7 separate regions of the Homo sapiens genome follow, and regions 1, 2, 3, 4, 6 and 7 are each linked to region 5. Evidence: promoter capture Hi-C in 16 types of primary human blood cells and fetal thymus (Javierre and others, 2016). All regions are on one chromosome and are shown on one strand. Each heading gives the region's core, a stretch centred on a gene start or on the middle of the fragment in contact. The rest is flanking DNA. Distances are from core to core; before and after follow the strand shown. Region 1 overlaps OFD1 (OFD1 centriole and centriolar satellite protein). Region 2 overlaps GEMIN8 (gem nuclear organelle associated protein 8). Region 3 has its middle 16 kb from the start of RBBP7. Region 4 overlaps TXLNG (taxilin gamma). Region 5 holds the start of PIGA (phosphatidylinositol glycan anchor biosynthesis class A). Region 6 overlaps SYAP1 (synapse associated protein 1). Region 7 overlaps TXLNG (taxilin gamma).

Region 1 (2,700 bases), core at 165-2,664, 1.6 Mb before region 5:
TGACAGTGACAATCCATCTCAAAAATTAACAACAATAAAAAAATACAGAGAAGCACATCCTCTGCGCTTCTTATGGCTTCTCTAACGTTTATTGTGGGCTGTGATTTGCTTTAATTTTCAGGACACCTTGTGACTTGCTTAGCTTGCATAGTTGATAAGCTGTAAAATTGGAATTATAACCACTTTTAGTTATCTTTTCCTCTACCTCACTCATACAGTCAGAAGGATGGGGTTATCTGACAATATATAAATTATACTAGTGGTCATAGTATTTGTCAGTGAACATGTGCCTTGTATTCCTTCAAGATTCAGCAAAGCCAGAATCAAAAGAGCTAAAATTAACTATGTGAGGCAAAAAGTGATATAGGGAAAGGAAAATATGGACAACTATGGTAACTTTGGCTTTTCTGTAGTCTGAGTTTTGTGTATCAGTGAATAATATCTCAGTGCTACGACATTATGCCCATGTGGTAACATTTCTCTTCAGTGTGTGGGAAAGCATCTGGCACATAAAAAGTGCTCAGTTAATATTTGTTGTAAATGTGTCACGAGGAAATGATTCAACTCAGGTGCTCTGGGCATTTCTTATTTGGCCTCTTTTATTGCCTTTCTCATAATTTGTCATCGATATTCCATTACATAATATTGCAAAGGTTTCTTGAGGTAATCCTTTAAACAAATCCTATTTTTAAAAAATATGGCAGCTTTTTTATCTATTGATTTTGAAATGATGTATTTTACCCACATCTTCTATGTCAGTTTCTATACTAAAATAGCTAAAATGGAAGTGTCTGTAGTTGCTGAATTTTTAGGAATAAATGAATTAAAGTATGTGTGTTAATTTTACATAGTTATGGAGCTAGTGAACTATTTGGTGTCATTGTGACAGCTTCCACAGGCTGCATGGTGTCTGCCTGGCTTTGGGAATCCTCATATGACTTTGGCAGGTGTTGGAGTTTGGAGGCTCTTCGCCACAGGAGTGCTTCTATTTCCTTTTGGAACCAAAAGGGCAGCTGGTAACAGCTGGGAAAGGGAAGTGAAACTGTGAAAATGTGCCTTTTGGTATTGCTAATCCGGATATAATGCTCTTGGCAGTTGGCTCTCAGGACTGTGCTTAGTCCCTGAGCACAAAAGTTCTTACCTTGGTTGGGGGTGGGCAGATGGTACAGGTGGATTGGAAGTGACCGTCTGATTATCATTTGGGATTGAGTCTGTTGTGTGCTGTGTAAATTTAATTTACCCCTTTGCTCTTTGTGTCAGTTGAGACCAACTGAAAAGTGATTGCTTTCAGTAAGTAACCTTATGATAACACGACGCTTCATTTTGTGTGATTGAGTTTTGGGACCCAGTTTATAGGATCAAGGAAGGGTTTTACTGGGCATTTTATGTTCAGGGGTTATATCCCTGGCTTTAGTATTGAGGACTTTGAAGTTTACAAGTTGTCATGTTTAGCACCCTCAGGTGCTCCTGTGCCATAGATAAGCTCCTGCACTGATAACAGTCTTTCCAGAAAAATGCCTGAGGAGCTCATATTTAGTCATTCTGATTCTCAGGTATCAACTTGAACTGAAGGATGACTACATCATTAGAACTAATCGACTGATTGAAGATGAAAGGAAGAATAAAGGTGATGTTTGGGGGGAAAATAAGCTGTATTTTTCAGTTCTGCTGTAGGTTATTAGCTTCCCAAGTTGGGTCTTTTCTATATTCTAAAAAATACAGCTTACACTTCATTGTTCATACAAAATTACACATTTTTTGTAATTTTAATTTTATAAATTAAAAATCATGGTCTTCACTGCCTTTTGAGGAACCTTCATGTTTAATAGTTTGTATATTCACAAAGGCCAGTGATTTATCATGGATATTTTATCCAACTTTATTTCATATATTTTGATAAATCTGCAATTGTCAGGAACGTAGCAGCAACTTATTGCTGTCAAGTACGTATTACTCCTAACCATGAGAGACTTTATTTTTCACTTACGGAAAACTTTTAACTTCTCTGTCCTCTGTGACCTAGTTTCTTATTTCTTTTGCTTCTAATATATTTTTATGCTTTATAATATTTTTACTTGATGTATAACCTTCTGAACTCTTGTGTACATTGGCCTGAGACTATGGAAGTTGAATAATTTTTCAATCTTCAGATGTTTTACATTTCAGTGTATTTTTTTTTTTTTTTGAGACGGAGTCTCGCTCTGTCACCTAGGCTGGAGTGCAGTGGTGCGATCTCGGCTCACTACAAGCTCCACCTCCCAGGTTCACGCCATTCTTCCACCTCAGCCTCCCCAGTAGCTGGGACTACAGGCACCCACCAACACGCCCGGCTAATTTTTTGTATTTTTAGTAGAGGCGGGGTCTCAGCGTGTTAGCCAGGATGATCTCGATCTCCTGACCTCGTGATCCGCCCGCCTCGGCCTCCCAAAGTGCTGGGATTACAGGCGTGAGCCACCACGCCCGACCCATTTCAATGTATTTCTAGGAAATTGCTGTAACAAGAAGTTGAAGTTTTGGTGGAAATTTCAAGTAGATTCCTGGGAGGAAACCAGGGTTAGATAGTTGATGTTGACCAGATACCCAATGTGTGGCTACTGTCTTTTTTTTTTTTTTTTTTTAAGAGACGGAGTCTTGCTCTGTTGCCCAGGCTGGAGTACAGTGGCACAATCTCAGCTCACTGCAACCTCTGCCTCCTGGGTT
Region 2 (2,885 bases), core at 329-2,828, 1.3 Mb before region 5:
TGCCCTGAGCTCAGAACTTCAGGGGGATGACCGGCCAGTACTTGGGCTGCTTTCGGTCACAGTGCTTGTCAAAGCTCAGCTGCACCGCGGCCTCCATGGCTTGGATCTTGGCAGCACTGTCCCCGTACAAACGCTTCATCTCGGCCTGGCGCCGCTCACCAGGCCTCTCAGTTGGGGCTTCTACCGACCGGCGGGTGTTGCAGTACAGGTCGTGGTCAGCGTTCACATAGCTGTCCAGGCGCTCTGCATCCAGCTGCTGCTGCCGCCCTGAGAACAAACACGAACGTGAACATGAACATAAACACACGTGTGTGCACTGCAGAAGGAGCCCAGTGAGTGCTGCTGCTGCTGGCCATGCCATCTGCAGCCCCCTAAGGTCCCTCATCTTTCCCTTTCCAACTGTGAAACCAGGCCCAAGTGTTCCAGATGAGATGCTTACCAGATTTTGAGGCAAGACCTGCAGATTATTATCATCATTCACCTACCAAGGGGTTATTATACACTGAGAGAAATGGCAAAGAGTTGAGTGCCTATAGTCCCACCTACTTGCGAGGCTGAGGTGGGAGGATGGCTTGAGCCCAGGGGGCAGAGATTGCAGTGTACCACTATACTCCAGCCCAGGTGACAAAGCCAGACCCGGTGTCAAAAAAAAAAGAAAAAGAAATGGTGAAGAGCCACAAGGAAACTCATCACTCCAAACTACCAAACCTCTGCAACAAGCCCTGAAAACACAGGAAAGAAATGAACCCACCTGAGGTTCTCTCTTTTCATCTGCACGGCCCACTCACCACCTGCCCAGCTAGGAATGGCTGATAGAGCTTGCTTGGTTTCAAACACTGCCCCAGGCCAGCAGGGAAACAAAAAGCTTCCTGGAAAGTCCAGTGTTGCGAGCAGTGCTTACCACCATGAATGAGGTGATGTGGGGGGAAAAAATCACTCCTTTGGAAGAGGTATTGATTTTAGGTAACCTGGAAAAGAACAAGTGCTAGCAAGCACAGTATGCAATGATGATGGATGATTGATTATCCTTCCACAGATTCGAAATGCAAATCATACCAAGCAAGGAAAAGTTAAATGAGTCAACACTTGCTGAAGGAAGAAGGGTGAGGAAAGGGCAATTCTACAAATGGAATTAAGGCCTCTGACTTCTAATCTTCCCGCTATATCAAAAAATCTGCAATAATGGGTTGGTTTTCTCACTACGGGATTTGACTTTCCACTTCATAGGTTGGCCTAGGTTAAACTGCAAGTGGTATCATTACATACTTTTAATCCTACTAATTTAAATGGATTCTTGTAAAGCAAGAAGTATCTATTCAATTTACTCTTCCCTCTGTTTTTTACTATGGCAAGTCCCAATATCATAATTTTTATTCTTATGTAAACTGCAACAACATAAAAGTATCAGTAAGACAATGCTGCATAAGGTTAAATTTAGCCAATTTCCATAGCTCTTGTAAGCGACTCTGTCAAGAGAGAAATTGACAGCAGGGAACACATATCCACGGCTACTATGGCTATCAAGAGAAACACCACGAGATAAGGAGTGAAGATGGTTGTAGGGAAATAAAAGAATCATATAAATCATTCTTCCATTGTTGGTCCTCCCTGTACTAATACATGGAACAGAACATGGTAGTGAGCTAATCAAGTGTGAATGGAAAGATATTTATAAGGCCATGCATAGTCGCTCGCATAAATCCTGCTCTTTATAAGCATCATCATGGCATTGGAGGGAAGGAGTTTTATAAACTTGGAAACATTATTAAAAATGTATGTGGCCATTGCTGTCTTGGAACATCCACAGTTTATTTTTACCTAAGGGCTTATATGAATAAGCCCAATGACTATCAAACACAATAAAAGCTGCGTAACTGCTACCTCACCCATGGAAAAAATGTATGATTAACTCATTGGGCAATGCAGAATGAAACCAAAATATTGGCCTAATATGCAAATGAATGGGGGCCACCAAGCATTTGTTTCTAATTTTTGGTCTTTCTGCCAAGTTTGAAACATCAGCATATAAGTTGTTCAGTTCTCACAAGTGTTTAAATTCTATGCCCCCTAAACTGAGTTGTGTTGGAGTGGCGTGGGAGTGGATGAGCCAAACAGTGGGTTAGAGAAAGCACTCGACAACCGCCATGACAGCTTCTTATTTCCGCAAGAGTTCTGTGTGTTCCTGGTACTCAGGTCAGGGTGAAAGCCCCGCTGGGGACTAGCTTCTCCCTGGGGGCATCTCTGTTTTTCTCCTGCCTCTGTCCTGGGATGATTGAACCTGACTTTGAAGGAAAGCTTAGCTTCGTGCTTTTAGAAGGAAGAGCGGGGGTGACCTAGGACACTGGGTCTTGGTATGGGCAGTACAGACTGGTGAGATATATTCAGTCACTAAGTTCATACAGGCCTTTCCCACTTGCCTCTTTCTAGGAACCTTGAGCAGGCAGTGGGTGGGCTGATGGCACTGCCCAGGCTTTCCAGGAAAGGTAGAATTTGGCTAAAGAATCTCTCATTCAAGGGCTACTTTTCTGAAGGCTTGGCATTTCCACATTAGCACAACACAGTCCCTCTGCCATCTATGAGCAGCCTTGTACCCATTACCAATCCTATGGCTCTCTTTTTTTTTTTTTTTTTTTTTTTTTTTGGTCTATCTGGAGGAGACGATCCCACAGGTGGGTTTGCTGAGTGCCTTGGAGTCTCTGCATCCAGAGGGCAGAGCCCACAGTCAGAGTTCCCAGACCACTGTCACATTACTCTCAAATTTATCCCAAGACTATAATCAGCTTCACTGACAGATCTGGTGACACAAGACATGTTCAACTTCCTGCATAAATCCGAGTCTTTGAGTTTAGAAGTTTGAATGAACACTGAGATCTTAGCTATCCTAA
Region 3 (2,769 bases), core at 92-2,591, 1.6 Mb after region 5:
GCATTTTCTGATTTATCAGAGGACAATCCGTACATTTTAGCACATTGTATTCTCAGAGGTAAAAGGTACTTCCACATTAGCCCCTTATTGCTCTCTGATGTATGAAATTCTCTAATCACTGTGAGCTCTGATCAAGGCAGGGAGATAATTGCATTTCATTTCCAACTCTGTCACTAACTAGGCCTATCCCCTTAAGTAGATGGTTTGCTCTTCCGGATCTATAATTTCCTCATTCCTCAAACAATGTTTTTAGCCCAGGAGAGATCCAAAGGTTATTTCGTATTTCACTGATTATGAGACTCATTCTCTTTTTCCCCCACATTTTAACATCTCTGAATTAACGTTCATCTGAAATACGTCATAGTATAGTTGGCAACATATTTTTTCTTAGTTTTATATATAAAATAATGGTGTATCTTATAATCATGGCACCTTGAGCTAGACGAAATATGATCTGTGTAATTTAATAACGTCATTGAAAATATGTATCTTCATATTTATTTTAATATATCTGAATATATTAAAACAGAAACAAAGACAATGACCTTTTATTGTGATTCTAAATCCAATTTAGAATATTAAATTACATATGTTATAATCAGAGCTTGCCCAAGTAACCATGCAACACACAAACTCAAAAATCTCCACTGCAGGCTGGGTGTGGTGGCTCACACCTGTAATCCCAGCACTTTGGGAGGCCAAGGTGGGCAGATCATTTGAGGCCAGGAGTTCCAGACCAGGTGTGCCAACATGGAGAAACCCCATCTCTACTAAAAATACAGAGATTTGCCGGGTGTGGTGGCATGCACCTGTGATCCCAGCTTTTCGGGAGGCTGAGACAGGAGAATCGCCTGAACCTGGGAAGCAGAGGTTGTAGTGAGCCAAGATTGCGCCACTGCTCTCCAGCCTGGGTGACAGAGCAAGACTCTGTCTCAAAAAAACAAAACAAAACAAACAAACAAAACTTCACTGCAGTGTGCTCCCATGTAGAATGGAAGATCAGCAAGATTCATCTTAGACAAAGTTGGGGGATGGGTACAATTTTGTTTCTCTTGAGTTTCACATCCTTTTTCTTTATTTCTCTCCTTCAGGTACTTAAAGCTTTTAAGCAACTTCTCCTCTGTGATGCCTTCTACCCTTTCTTCCCTCCCTAACCCCCATCTCTATCAGCTACACTTGAGAGTCAATTCATTCCAGGGATATTTTCTCATGAAGATTTATGACCAAGGGAATCACCTGGTATTATACCAGTGATGTGTTGGTATATGTTTAATAACCGGCTCTCTGGTGGTGGGGGAAGGCCTGATTTGCAGCACTTGCCAATTTCTGTGGTATAAATACTCCTGCAGTGGCTGATTTCAAGCTACCGATCTGACGTCAGTCACCTCATAAAATTCCTGAAAACTTCACAATGAGCTCTCATGAACCAGTATGACCCTTCTCCAACACATCACTGCTTGGTACAGACCTGATTATTCCATTCTTCTGCCAGAATCCTGTGATGATTTCTGATTGGCTCCAGAGTGGATTCCAGTTTCTCCAGCTTGATATTTAAGAGCAGAATATGATCTCATGGGTGCTGAAGCTTATGCAGTTTGGGGGCCCTCTTTAAGAACAATAATACGAACTTCATAGTACAACATTAGATACAAAAGTGAATAAGTATTTGGAATGAGAAATCACGACACATTACAAATGTTAAAAAGCTGACAAATACCAGAAACATCACAAAATCTGGAAAAATCACATAATATGCTTGGAAGAACTTTCCCCAGGCTTGCTTCTGGCTTTGTGCATTTTAAGCCTTTTTTTTTTTTTTTGAGACAGAGTCTCACTCTGTCGCTCAGACTGGAGTGCAGTGGCGTGATCTCAGCTCACTGCAACCTCCGCCTCCCAGGTTCAAACAATTCTCCTGCCTCAGCCTCTTGAATAGCTGGGATTACAGGCACACACCACCAAGCCTGGCTAAGTTTTGTAGTTTTAGTAGAGACGGGGTTTCACCATGTTGGCCAGGCTGGTTTCAAACTCCTGACCTCAGGTGATCTGCCCACCTTGGCCTCCCAAAGTGCTGGGATTACAGGCATGAGCCACTGCACCTGACCATAAGCCTCGTTTTTTGTCCACTACCCACATCTGGTGCCAGGTGCCCTCAGACATGATCATATTGTGATATGTCCTCTGGCAGTGGGGTGTAGGAGTATTCCTGAGAGCTATTCCTTATTTGGATGGCTAATCAATGACTTAATCATTCATGGAAATGACCGTCAAACATGTATGTTTCTCTAAACCCTAGCCAAATATATCTCCAACTCAACTTCCCCTAGCTAGATCCCCAAAATGCCTGTAGCCACTCTAATGTCACTGAGTATAGCGGGAAGTGTATCAGTCAGGGGTCGATCTGATAAGCAGAACTGCCATGAGAGATCTAGAATAAGGGATTTATTATAGGGATTCGATCCTATGCGACTGGGGGAAGAGTATGTGTAAGCTGTCACCTCCATGTTTATTGTTGAGCCTGAAGTTGCTATAGGTCAGCCAGACCAGCATTTGGAAGGAGAACTGCATGTGGATAACAATTGGAATGCTTACGGACAAACTGGAACACGTGTCCAACCTCTCACCACCTCTTGTCATGGTGTCGTGTGTGGCCTGCACGAGAAGCTGGTACTCTTTGCCACGGAACTACACATGCATTTGACCCAGGCTTTGGAGTCACTGAAGGAGCTGTCCAGTGTCGCCTAAGTGAGGGATCAGATCAGTGACACTGCC
Region 4 (2,700 bases), core at 168-2,667, 1.5 Mb after region 5:
CCACGTGAAATTGCTAAACAAGACAAGAATATGTCCTTGGCCTAAAAAAATGGCAATTTCATATAGTGAACTCTAATATCTTTAGAGTTTTGTGCTATAAGCACGTAAGTTGTTTTAAAAACTACATATAGCTGGGTGTGGTGGCACGCCTGTAGTCCCAGCTACTCAGGAGTCCGAGGCGGCAGGATCGCTTGTGCTGGTGTTTTTCATCAGGGCCCTCCCTCTTGTTCATTCCAGACCCTGTAAGTGTGTCCTGCTGTGATCTCTCTCTGTGGTTGCCTTGTGTGGAATGAGTGTAGGAGGAGTTAGCTCCTTAAAAAAAAAAAAAGGTACAGGAAAGACTTGCCGTGGCTTTACAGATGGGTAAAATTAGGCATTTCTACCTATACATTCATCCTTTTTTTCAGTTAACTAGATTACATTTGGCTGAAAGAAGTGTTACTTAAAAGTTTATCATATAAGTTTTTGTGAAGACTCTAGATTAGCTGTAAAATAACACTGAGACCTTGAGACTGGCATGATCTTCATGAGCACCTCTTTGGAGTGCTGCTTTTCTTTGGGAACATCTTACAATGTGATGAATTTAAGGTCCTATAAAGCTAGCCTAACTTAGAGTGAATATTCAAGAGGTGTCAGATATGAGGAATCTTTGGAACCGAAGATCATGCCAGAAAGCTTCTAGGAGATTTGAATCTCTTACTTATCAGCCCTATACAGTCAGTTGTCCATGTAAATAGAGATGAGAATTGATGTGGAGAAGGTACGAAGTCTCCAGATGGCTTTGGAAGATGTTCCTGAACGTGGGTGTCATTGACAATGCTGCGGAAGTCACCAGAGGGCCCTTTTACCAAGCCCCCAGGCCAGCTCCAATTCTATTGTACTGTCACCATCGTAGCTTCTGTTGTCTGTGATCTGTACCACTCAGAGTCCTCTTATCCAGTCACTATTTGTTTCCTTTGCTGTCACCTCTTGTTTTCCTCTAAATGTGGCTGTCCTTCCCAAGCATGTCTCACCTTCTCTGCCCTCACCATGTCATTTCCCAGCATCTGCTGGTGTAACTCAAAGTCTTTGTGCTGTCTTCACCCGCTGTTTTGTAATCTAGCCATGGAGGTCCATGTGTGATAATAGTGGCCACTTATTGGCTACCCACTGGGCCAGCACTGAACTCTCACATGGGACAGTCTTTATTTGGATGTTCCATTTTCAATAAAAGTGGACTGTGCCTGCGAGGCGCAGTGGCTCATGCCTGTAATCCTAGCCAAGGCGGGCGGATCGCTTGAGCTTAGGAGTTTGAGACCAGCCTGAGCAACATGGTGAAACCCCATCTCTATAAAAGATACAAAAATTAGCCAGGTGTGGTGGTGTGTGCCTACAGTCCCCTCTATTCAGGAGGCTGAGATGGGAGGATTGCTTGAGCCCAAGAGGGAGGTCGAGGCTGCAATGAGCCGTGATTGCGCCACTGCACTCCAGCCTGAGCGACAGAGTGAGACCCTAAAGGACCACATCAAAACTGCTGTAACTTCTAATGTCCCTCAGGCACTAATACTGCTCCCTCCCTCTGCGTGAGCACCACTCTTGCCCCAACTCCAGGCCTGTCATGTCAGAGGCCCCGTCAGTGTCTGCTAACAAATCCTGTGTGTTCTCCAGGTCACCCTGCATTTCTCTTCCTGCTTTGTCCTCATCCCAGGCCAGGCCCTTGTGCAGATGTGGCTTGGCCATCTCACAGGGACCTCGTCTAGCCTAACAAGCACAAGGTCACTGTGAGATGACTAACTTTCAGTTGGCTTCTGCGTCCACCACACCACAGTGCGTGCTGCTTAAGTGCTTCCGGGATGGCCCGTCCCCCTGCTGGCTGTGGCTGGGCGGGCACCATCATATTCCACCCTGCCCTGCATCCTGTGCGCTAGGTGGTGCTGGTGAATATTCTGCATCCAGCACTGCTTATGCTGTTTCTTGGCCTCTGAAGATCCTTTATTCTTCTCTGCTTTTCTTATATCTATCGTGTGATCTTGCCCAAAATACTTTATTCCTCTGGGTCTCTCTCTGTTCCCCTATCCTGAAAATAATGTGATTATGTTGGATAGTCTCTGAAAGGTTCCCTCCTGGTCTAAGATGAACTCATTCAGCTCACCTATGAGGGCCAGCTCAGGCCTCCCACATGAAGCTTCCCCTAAGTATCCTGAGCCTCAGTGTGCCCTTCCCCGTATACTTCTCTGGACTCCTTTCTAAGGGGGAGAAGATGGTGACTCCATTTTATATTTTGCTTGCCTTGTTGGTTAGCATTTTTCCCTCATCCTTAAATAAAAATTCCTTGAGGGTAGGACTATGTTAAGAGTAGATCTCTTTACGTTTTCTTTTAATTTTACTCTCACCGAATTCTTCTTCCCCAACCAAACCAATTCTTTGGCTTCTGTTGCATTTTCCTCCCTTCGTTAAGGAAAGAGATACCATTGCTATCAAACTAAGAACTCTGCAGGTGGTATTCTAAAGGAATGATCTTTTCCCAAGGACAGTTTTCACTTGGCAGGAGAGGGGTAGTTGGGCGAGCACTCCACATGCATGACGTTTATAGTCACCACATCCTTCAGGCTGTGTTATGACCAATGGGTGGAGATCTAATATTAAAGTCAACAGAATGTCCTCAGTTTTAATGCATTTCTGTGGGTTGTCAGAACTTTAGCCATCTATGTCTGGTGTCCA
Region 5 (2,700 bases), core at 88-2,587:
TTTTTTTTTTTTTTTTTTTTTTTGAGACGGAGTCTCACTCTGTTGCCCAGGCTAGTGTGCAGTGGAGCGATCTCGTCTCACTGCAGCCTCTGCCTCCCGAGTTCAAGCGATTCTCCCACTTCAGCCTCCTGAATAGCTGGAATTACAGGCGCACACCACAAGCCCAGCTAATTTTTGTATTTTTAGTAGAGACGGGGTTTCATCATGTTGGCCAGGCTGGTCTCGAACCCCTGACCTCAGGTGATCCACCAGCCTCGGCCTCCCAAAGTGCTGGGATTACAGGTGTGAGCCACCGTGCCCGGCCTCATCTACATTTTAAATATACTCTCGGAAAGACCCCAGAAGTGTTTGTTGACTGAGTTTACTAATTAAGATTCAATATTACCAAATATTGAAATTCCCCAAGTTTGTACTTTTAGGTGGCTTAACTAACATTTTCTTACTGTGGTCACCTAAACCCGAACTTCCAGTTCTACCAGTTTTAAAAGATGAACGATAGCAAAAACAGTGAGTAATGAACCAAATGATATCATTTAAAATGTTGTCATTAGCCTGCAACGTTCTGTGAGGAGTCTGCCCACTTCCGCCAGGTTTTCAGTCCAAACATCTTTGACATAAAAGTTCATTATGCTGCACAATCGCAGAATCTTAGCTCTTAAAGCCGAAATGAGGCTTGGAGCTCTAGTGAATACCTCTCTCGTTTTACAAATGAGAACCCAGACAAGTTGAGTGATTTGTCCAAGGTTCCCACCCAGCCACTTAAAGTGGCAAAGACATTACCGTAAAATTCTCGACCACGACCAACGAGCCCTGGGCAATCATTAGCAGTAGAGGTTCCTGAAGAACCTTAGGGAGACCTGGCAGGAGTTGTGGGTCAAGAGAATGGTACTTCCACCGACAATTCCTGGGCACTGTCTGAGCTTCATTCCCTGATTCCCTGAGAGGTCGCTGGGGAAACGCTCGGGCCAAGGAGGGGATACCCCTGCTCAGACAGCGACCCCGCTGGGTTCATGGCGGGGATGGCCAGGCCCAAAGAGAGAAAGAAAACAACCAAAGAGTGGACGTTGGTCTCAGGCCCGGGGTTCCGGAGACCCCAGTCCCTCGACCCACCCGCCTGAGCCAAGGAACCCAGCGCGTCCGCCCTAAACGCACCCTCAGCCCCAACCTACTCTGGAGACCCTCCGACCCAACTTCCGGGCTTCGAACCGGGTCGGTTTCACCCCCTCCACCACCCGCCACGATCCCACGCGCGCAGAACAGCCCCATCCGAAAGCGGCCCAGAGCGCTGGAGAGGGGCGGCGCGACGCGCACTCACCGGTGAGTTCCATGGCCGCCAGTGTCCGGACCTCCCGCGGCTGCAGCCGGAGTCCCTCCCTGCTGTTCCGCAGCACCAATCTAGGGCGTCCGCGCCCAAGGGCCGCGCCCCCGAGGCAGCCAATCACAAAGAGGCGCTGAGGTCACGTCCGAGAGAGACGCTCTGTCGTCCCCACCCTTAAGCGCGAGATGTAACGTCAGCGCGCGCCTGCGCCCGTCTCCTAGAAGCGGCCGACGGTAGGGTGGGTGCTCACCCTGGTTTCCTGGTTACAGCGTCTCTATTCCGGACGCCAGTTCTCTGCGCGCTTGCTTCTGATTGGAGAGACTTTTTGTTTGTAATCAGCTGTGCCACGGCAAAACCGTGCCGGTTCTTACCGCTCTGGGACGTTTGCCAGATAAATAAATAAAAATACACAAAAAGTCAAAACAGATGAAACTATGAAGTTTTAATTTCAGATAAAGCACAAATGATGTTTAATACAAGCATGTACCAAATATTGGGGACTTCACTACACATTCGTTTTTTATCGGACATGTAAATTTAACTAGACATCCTGTTATTTATATGGCAATTCTACACTCTGAGGGAAACATACGAGGTCTGATCTGAAATATCAACTCCCACTCGACTGGTTCAACTAGTTACGATGGTGCTTGACTAGGAAGCTAAAGAATCAGTGAGAGTGGTATGACGGTCATCCATGCGTCACAGCTGGTACTTGGAATCCCCCATCCCTGCCATACGTGCGTTTTCGAGAAGAAATTCCTTTCTGAGTACCATCACAGCCACCGTTACTGGCACCCATTTTATTAAGCCTAGTGTAAGCCTATTCATCCCTGAAAATGTCTGCTCCTTTCTGATGCTTTCCCCAAGCCTCCAGAGAATGAAATACTCTCACTTTTTAATTTTAATAGTACTTTGGCCACATGCTGGCCAAAGTATAACATTTATCAGATGATATTCAAGTTGTTTGCCTGATTGCATTCTCCCTCCTCACCCTGATCCTTGATTACTTGTCTCTTGAGATCTCACATGGACTTCTTTCTGAAAACGGAAATTGTATTTGCTTGTTAAATGTCTGCCTTCCCTGCCAGATAGTAAACTGAGGCAGGATCTGTTCTTGGTAATGGATGTTGAGGAAGTTTTAGTTTAATACATGAATTTCTTTACCCAATGTCAGCACACTCCCTGACACATATTAGATGCTCACAATAAAATGTATTGACAGTATTTCGTGGAGTGTACCTTATACAAATTACAGTGCAATAACATCATTGAAAGAGCATTTTAGTTGTGAGATTTGAAGCGAATTAATGAGTTGATGAGTAAGACTAGAGTAGCAATCGATACTTTGCCCTGTGTTAATATTGATGAAGCATCGGAGA
Region 6 (2,821 bases), core at 276-2,775, 1.4 Mb after region 5:
TGACCAACGTGGTGAAACCCTGTCCCTACTAAAAATACAAAAATTAGCTGGGCGTGGTGGTGCGCGCCTATAATCCCAGCTACTCAAGAGGCTGAGGCGGGAGAATCGCTTGAACCCGGGAGGCGGAGGTTGCAGTGAGCCGAGATCGCGCCACTGCACTCCAGTGTAGGTGACAAAGTGAGACTGCATCTCACAAAAAAAAAAAAAAAAATCTCCTGGGAGCCCCATTTGTTCTGCATATATTTGTTGAGTGCCTACCTTCAAGACTGGACACTAAATACTTCCTGGTTCCTGGTGACCTATTTATACATTCAGGCAACTCACCAGTTAGTGGTGGACACCCAGGCCTGCATTCCACTCCCTCACTCAAAACCAAACCTCCTGGTCTCCTGATTCTTGGCCCTCCCTCCTGATAAATTTACAACCTCCGATTGTCACTGTCTCCAAAGGAAGGAACAATTTATAGGAGAACTCACTTAAGAGCTCCTCCCTACCTCCCTCAAGGCCCCATGCCGTTAAGTTGGTTAGTTGGTTTTTGTTAAAGTCAACCAAATTAAAGCTTTGCCTCTACTCTTTCTGAAAAAAATAAATAAATAAAAAGAAAATCTGTACTTCTGAGAATGTTAAATATCTGAATCAGTCACACAGTTTACATCAGTGGGAGGATGGCCAAAGATGAGCTTTGTGATCTTTAGCTTTTTCTAAACCGCCCCTAAAACTATTCCATGCCTAGGAATGGGGAAAGGGCCACCTCCTCCTCCTTTGAAAAGTGCTATTAGTATTGCAGTGGACCTGTGTTAGACTGTCCTCCTTTTCTTCTGTAGGGAAAGTATATTTCAAGTTCCAGCTGCCTAACTTGCAAACTAAGAGGACTCCTAAAGTTAGAGTGTACAGAGGTGACTATGTACCTGCTTTGATGTGGGAGTAAAATATCTAATTGAGTTCTGATAACACACCCAGGTTTACAATGCACAGTCAATAGCTTGGATCCTAGGGCTTATGAACAATACTTTTTAAAATTGGGGATCTCGATTTGAAGAAGAAACTTAGGGACATTGCAGAAAATCTGAAAGGTCTTTTGCAGAAAAGAAGTCGTAGATGTTCCTTATGAGGATAGACCTGAGGCTGTGGGGTAGAAATGACTAGAGAAGTGAGAAGAATTTTCTGATTAGAGTTGAGTAACAGTAATTACTGGCTGCCCTTCTAAGTCCTGTGCTCCCTACCCCTGGAAGTGGGGCTACCTGGATAGGAAGGTCCATTCCCACACTAAGATGCTGAAATTCTAAAATTGTATGAAATATAGTATCTTTGAAAAATTAACCAACTACTTTATAAGAATATTAATTTCCTAAGACTTTGCCACTGTATGCTTATTCTCTTCCTATTCTTGCGGCAGGCCTTAAACTCTACCTTGCTCTGTGTTTACTTTAACAAATTTATGTTTTTTCTGACCTTTGAAGCTCTTCCTACTTTACTTTATTCTTACCATTCCTTTCAGTTCTTCAAGCCCTTGTCAACTTGCTCAACTGACCTGAGGCAGCGTGGGATTGGAGCATGAGCTTGGGATTTAGAGGCAGATAGCCTGTGTTTGAGTTCCCTACACTACTTACTGTCTTTATTGTTATATCATTTGCAAATTACAGAAAGTCCAGTGATCAGAGGCTTAATGAAAGAAACTTTATTTTTGTGTCAGGGAGTCCCCAAGAACCATCCCCAGGTTTGATGATTGGCTAGGAAGACTTATGGGACTCAGCATATAGTTGTATTCATGGCCGTGATGTATTGCAATGAAAGAGTACAAGAATAAAATCAGGAAAGGAAAAAGGCACATGGGGTGGAAGTCCAGGGGTAAGCAGGCACAGTAGAGTCACACAGGACGTGCTTAATTCCTCTAGCAAGGAGTTGTGACAACACGTGTGAGATGCTGTCTTCCAGGGAAGCTCATTAGAGACTCAGTGCCCAGGACTTTTACTGGGGACTGGTCGTATAGGTATCCTCTGCCTACCACATATCCAAATTCCAGACCCCACAAGGAAAGCGGGAGTTCAGCATAAACCACAATGAGGCATTCTTAGCAGTTTAAGAAATGGTGGGAGCCCTCCCGAAATCTAAGTTCCCGGACACCCAGCCAGTGGCCAACCTTGAAAGCAAGCCTTTCCAAGGACAGCAGTCTCAGGCCTGCCATGTTAATGCTTTTCTGCAGAGTCTCCAAGAAATGTGGGGATGGGAGGGAGGTCCCAGGGTCAGTTCCATGGCTCAACGATATGATCAGGGAACCAATCTCTTCCACGCTTCCTCTCCTTCATCCATAGTGAGTTGGTTTCCATCCTCAGGCTGATCACTTCAGGCTCACAAGACAGCAACTGCAGTAGAAAGGGAGGACGAGGACTCTCCCCATAGCTCCCTTTTTATTAAGAAAGAAAATGTTTCTGGATGCCGACTTGCAGGTGTCCCCTTAAATTTCTTGGGGTGGAGCTGTCACATGGCTTTTCTAAGCTTCACGGGACTCTCAGCAAGTATGTGGCAGAGATCCTGACAGAGGTAGTGCCATTACCTTCTTTGGTGTGGACTTGTCAAGATTCATTCTCTGGGGCTGGCCACATGGGCACGCATCAAAATTGGGGTGGTTTTAACAAGGCAGAAGAGATGGGCTACTGGCTGGGCAGCCAGCAAGATCTGCCCCTATCACATAGGACAAATCATTTTTCCTCTGTGAGCCTCAGCTTCCCTTTTTTTGAACTGGGCAGATTATTCCTTCTCCTTGTCCCAGGAAGGTTATGAGAATAAAACATGGCATAATTAAAATGAAGGTAAAATAACT
Region 7 (2,893 bases), core at 129-2,628, 1.5 Mb after region 5:
TTGCCCAGGCTAGAGTGCAATGGCATGATCTTGGCTCACCACAACCTCCGCCTCCCGGGTTCAAGCAATTCTCCTGCCTCAGCCTCCCAAGTAGCTGGGATTACAGGCATGTGCCACCACGCCCGGCTAATTTTTTTTGTATTTTTAGTAGAGACGGGGTTTCTCCATGTTGGTCAGGCTAGTCTCAAACTCCTGACCTCAGGTGATCTGCCCGCCTCGGCCTCCCAAAGTGCTGAGGTTACAGGTGTGAGCCACTGCGCCCGACCCTTATCCCCTATTATTTACATCTTGCATTAGTGTGATACTTGTGTTAAAATTCATGAGCCAATATTGCTATATTATTATTGACTAAGTCCATAGTTTACGTTAGGGTTCACTCTGGTGCTATATATTCTATGCATTTTGACAAATGTGTAGTGACATGGATCCACGATTATAGTATCACACAGAAGAGTTTCACAGTCCTATAAATCCCTTGTGCTCTACCTATTCATCCCTCTCTCCCTTCCCCTAGACTACTGACAGCCACTGATTTTATTTTTTTTAAATTTTAGAGTTGGGGGTCCTGCTATGTTGCCCAGGCTGGTCTTGAACTCCTAGGCTCAGGCGATCGTTCTGCCTTGGCCTCCCAAAGTGCTGGAATTATAAGTATGAGCCACCACACCTGGCCTGATCTTTTTACTGTCTCCATAGTTTTGCCTTTTCCAGCTTGTCTAAGGTTGGTATTTTTTTTCTTTACTAGATTTTTGCTTGGGAATGTTAAAAATTATTTAACTACTATTAAACTAATTTTTAGGTCCATAAACCATGTGGAAGGATAATACAAGGTACCTAGGCCCAAATTAACAAAATCTTGCATTTACATAATGCCCTGTAGTTTTTATGGCACATTTGCACATACATTAACTCTTTCAGCACCAGTCAGATGCTGTGGAGAAGGCTGGGCAGCTTTCACTGCCCTCATTTGCTGATGACAAGCTGCTCAACGATGTTAACTCACTTGCCTAAGGGGTGAAGCTGAGTCTGGAACCCAATACTCTTTCATCTATACTACAGTAATGAGTAGTGTAGTACTGGGTAAATCTATGGATTTTGGAGTTGGGACTCCTGGCTTTCTGCCGCCCATAGCTCTGCAACCTTGGGCAAGTTTCTCAATCTTTCTAAGCTTCAGTTGCATCATCTGTAAAGAGGGGATAATGCTCATACCTACCACAGGGGATTACTGTGAAGAAGGAGTTGATGGGACACATTTGGCACAGTGTGGGATATGTAGAATTTTACATGGTTTGGAGGGGAGGACATATGGAAGAGATTAATTTCTCTTGCATTTAGGGTGCTAATTTTGTAAATCCATCTTCCAACCTTTATATTCTCTCCTCTTCCCAGAATCTCTCCGTGATAGACATAATGAGGAGAAATCAGGTCAGGGTTGGGCAAGAGTATGGGGGCAGGAAAAAGCCATTTCATTAATCTTGTTTTTCTCCCCATTTGCCAACTTGATGAACTTCCACTCTTCTGGTACAGAGATTAAGTAATGAGAAGTAAAGTAAAGTGATCTTCTGCTTACACCATTGTTTTCTAATTGTATCACCAAGCTTTGGTAAATTTATTTTTTTCTTTTACTGGGATCAAATAGGACAAGCAGTAATGAGAACAAACCAGATACAGCATATTCTGCTATTCATGCCACATTTTCATATCATATTATGTCATATTTATTATGTTATTGGAACGTGTTTTATTTATTTATTTTTAATTTATTTTGTTTTTTTGAGATGGAGTCTTGTTCTGTAGCCCAGGCAGGAGTGCAATGGCGCAATCTCAGCTCACTGCAACCTCCACTTTCCGGGTTCAAGTGATTCTCCTGCATCAGCCTCCCGAGTAGCTGAGATTACAGGCATGCGCCACCAGGCCTGGCTAATTTTTGTATTTTTAGTAGAGATGGGGTTTCACCATGTTGGCCAGGCTGGTCTTGAACTCCTGACCTCAAGTGATCCACCTGCCTTGGCCTCCCAAAGTGCTGGAATTACAGGCATGAGCCACCGCGCCCTGCCTGGAAGGTGTTTTATGTTATTTTGTGTGTTATTTATATTGGTCTTGCCTAGAGAAGTTTTGTTTAGGAAGGTATATATCAAATCCAAATGACATAAAACTGCTTTTGTGGGATTCTTCACAAGATTCACTATAATGGGCTTCTATTAAATAGATATGCTGTCACAGTTTTACACTTCTCAGAGTTATGTTTCAAAGGAAAGAAATTTGGAGACCTCAAATTTCATTTGTGTTTCATGCACTGTGTTAGTCACTTAAGGTGTGAATGCATTCTAATATCTCCTTAACTCTGCAAGGTAGGTGGTATCCCCAGGTATATAGATAAGGCATCTGAGTCTTAGTCAGAAACAAACTTGCTTGAATAATAGAGCCCACAGTTGGTGACGTTTGCTAGGGTTAGTGTATAGTTGTGTAATTGATAGTATGACAGATGTCTTCTAATGCCCAGGAAGTTTCTGCTTACCTCGTTAAGTTTTAACTTAATACCTCAAGAAATCTGTTTGCCTGTTCCTCCTCTTCCTGCTGCCCTCCCCCTAATTCCTCTTGTTTGGTTCTAATGTGATTATGAATAACTTTTAGTTAATATAACGGGTGTGTCAGTATTTATAAAGTATGGGCCAGGCATGGTGGCTCATGCTTGTAATCCCAGTGCTTTGGGAGGCCGAGACGGGAGGACTGCTTGAGGCCAGGATTTTGAGACCCGCTTGGGCAACACAGGGAGACCCCGTCTCTATGAAGAATAAAAAACTTAGCTAGGCACATTGGTATGTGCCTGTAGTTCCAGCTACTTGGGAGGCTGAGGTGGAAGGATCACTTGAGTCCAGGAGGTCAAGGTTGCAGT

The links. The method cuts DNA at HindIII sites, captures the fragments that hold promoters and counts their contacts. A CHiCAGO score of 5 or more calls a contact.
Region 1: a fragment that was not itself captured here is called in contact with the fragment with the promoter of PIGA in region 5 in 1 of 17 cell types (neutrophils); the score reaches 5.6 in neutrophils.
Region 2: a contact is called between a fragment that was not itself captured here and the fragment with the promoter of PIGA in region 5, in 5 of 17 cell types (activated CD4 T cells, total B cells, naive CD4 T cells and 2 more). The highest score is 8.6, in activated CD4 T cells.
Region 3: a contact is called between a fragment that was not itself captured here and the fragment with the promoter of PIGA in region 5, in 1 of 17 cell types (total B cells). The highest score is 8.5, in total B cells.
Region 4: a contact is called between a fragment that was not itself captured here and the fragment with the promoter of PIGA in region 5, in 1 of 17 cell types (non-activated CD4 T cells). The highest score is 5.3, in non-activated CD4 T cells.
Region 6: a fragment that was not itself captured here is called in contact with the fragment with the promoter of PIGA in region 5 in 9 of 17 cell types (total B cells, naive CD4 T cells, non-activated CD4 T cells and 6 more); the score reaches 15.2 in total B cells.
Region 7: a fragment that was not itself captured here is called in contact with the fragment with the promoter of PIGA in region 5 in 9 of 17 cell types (total B cells, non-activated CD4 T cells, naive B cells and 6 more); the score reaches 10.6 in total B cells.

What each region holds. Positions count from the first base shown.
Region 1 is chrX:13,751,815-13,754,514 of GRCh38, forward strand. It overlaps OFD1 (OFD1 centriole and centriolar satellite protein), which reads left to right. Exons shown (of 23, transcript NM_003611.3): 11 at 1,554-1,627. Among named protein-coding and RNA genes, the nearest start is that of OFD1, 18 kb to the left of the region's middle. The HindIII fragment of the contact is 7,415 bases long and covers 1-2,700 here.
Region 2 is chrX:14,008,903-14,011,787 of GRCh38, forward strand. GEMIN8 (gem nuclear organelle associated protein 8) reads right to left here. Exons shown (of 5, transcript NM_001042479.2): 5 at 1-267. The coding sequence ends at 11. Among named protein-coding and RNA genes, the nearest start is that of GEMIN8, 20 kb to the right of the region's middle. The HindIII fragment of the contact is 1,430 bases long and covers 864-2,293 here.
Region 3 is chrX:16,884,770-16,887,538 of GRCh38, forward strand. No RefSeq gene overlaps it. Among named protein-coding and RNA genes, the nearest start is that of RBBP7, 16 kb to the left of the region's middle. The HindIII fragment of the contact is 484 bases long and covers 1,100-1,583 here.
Region 4 is chrX:16,834,764-16,837,463 of GRCh38, forward strand. All of the region lies in intron 7 of TXLNG (taxilin gamma), which reads left to right. LOC124905251 (a long non-coding RNA gene) reads right to left here. Exons shown (of 2, transcript XR_007068399.1): 2 at 1-2,700. Among named protein-coding and RNA genes, the nearest start is that of RBBP7, 34 kb to the right of the region's middle. The HindIII fragment of the contact is 1,489 bases long and covers 674-2,162 here.
Region 5 is chrX:15,334,186-15,336,885 of GRCh38, forward strand. PIGA (phosphatidylinositol glycan anchor biosynthesis class A) reads right to left here and starts at 1,338. Exons shown (of 6, transcript NM_002641.4): 1 at 1,316-1,338. RefSeq lists enhancers at 1,090-1,139, 1,190-1,269. The HindIII fragment of the contact is 3,001 bases long and covers 1-2,700 here.
Region 6 is chrX:16,722,336-16,725,156 of GRCh38, forward strand. The region is part of intron 1 of SYAP1 (synapse associated protein 1); the gene reads left to right. Among named protein-coding and RNA genes, the nearest start is that of SYAP1, 4.1 kb to the left of the region's middle. The HindIII fragment of the contact is 1,937 bases long and covers 558-2,494 here.
Region 7 is chrX:16,789,832-16,792,724 of GRCh38, forward strand. The region is part of intron 1 of TXLNG (taxilin gamma); the gene reads left to right. Among named protein-coding and RNA genes, the nearest start is that of TXLNG, 4.8 kb to the left of the region's middle. The HindIII fragment of the contact is 430 bases long and covers 1,164-1,593 here.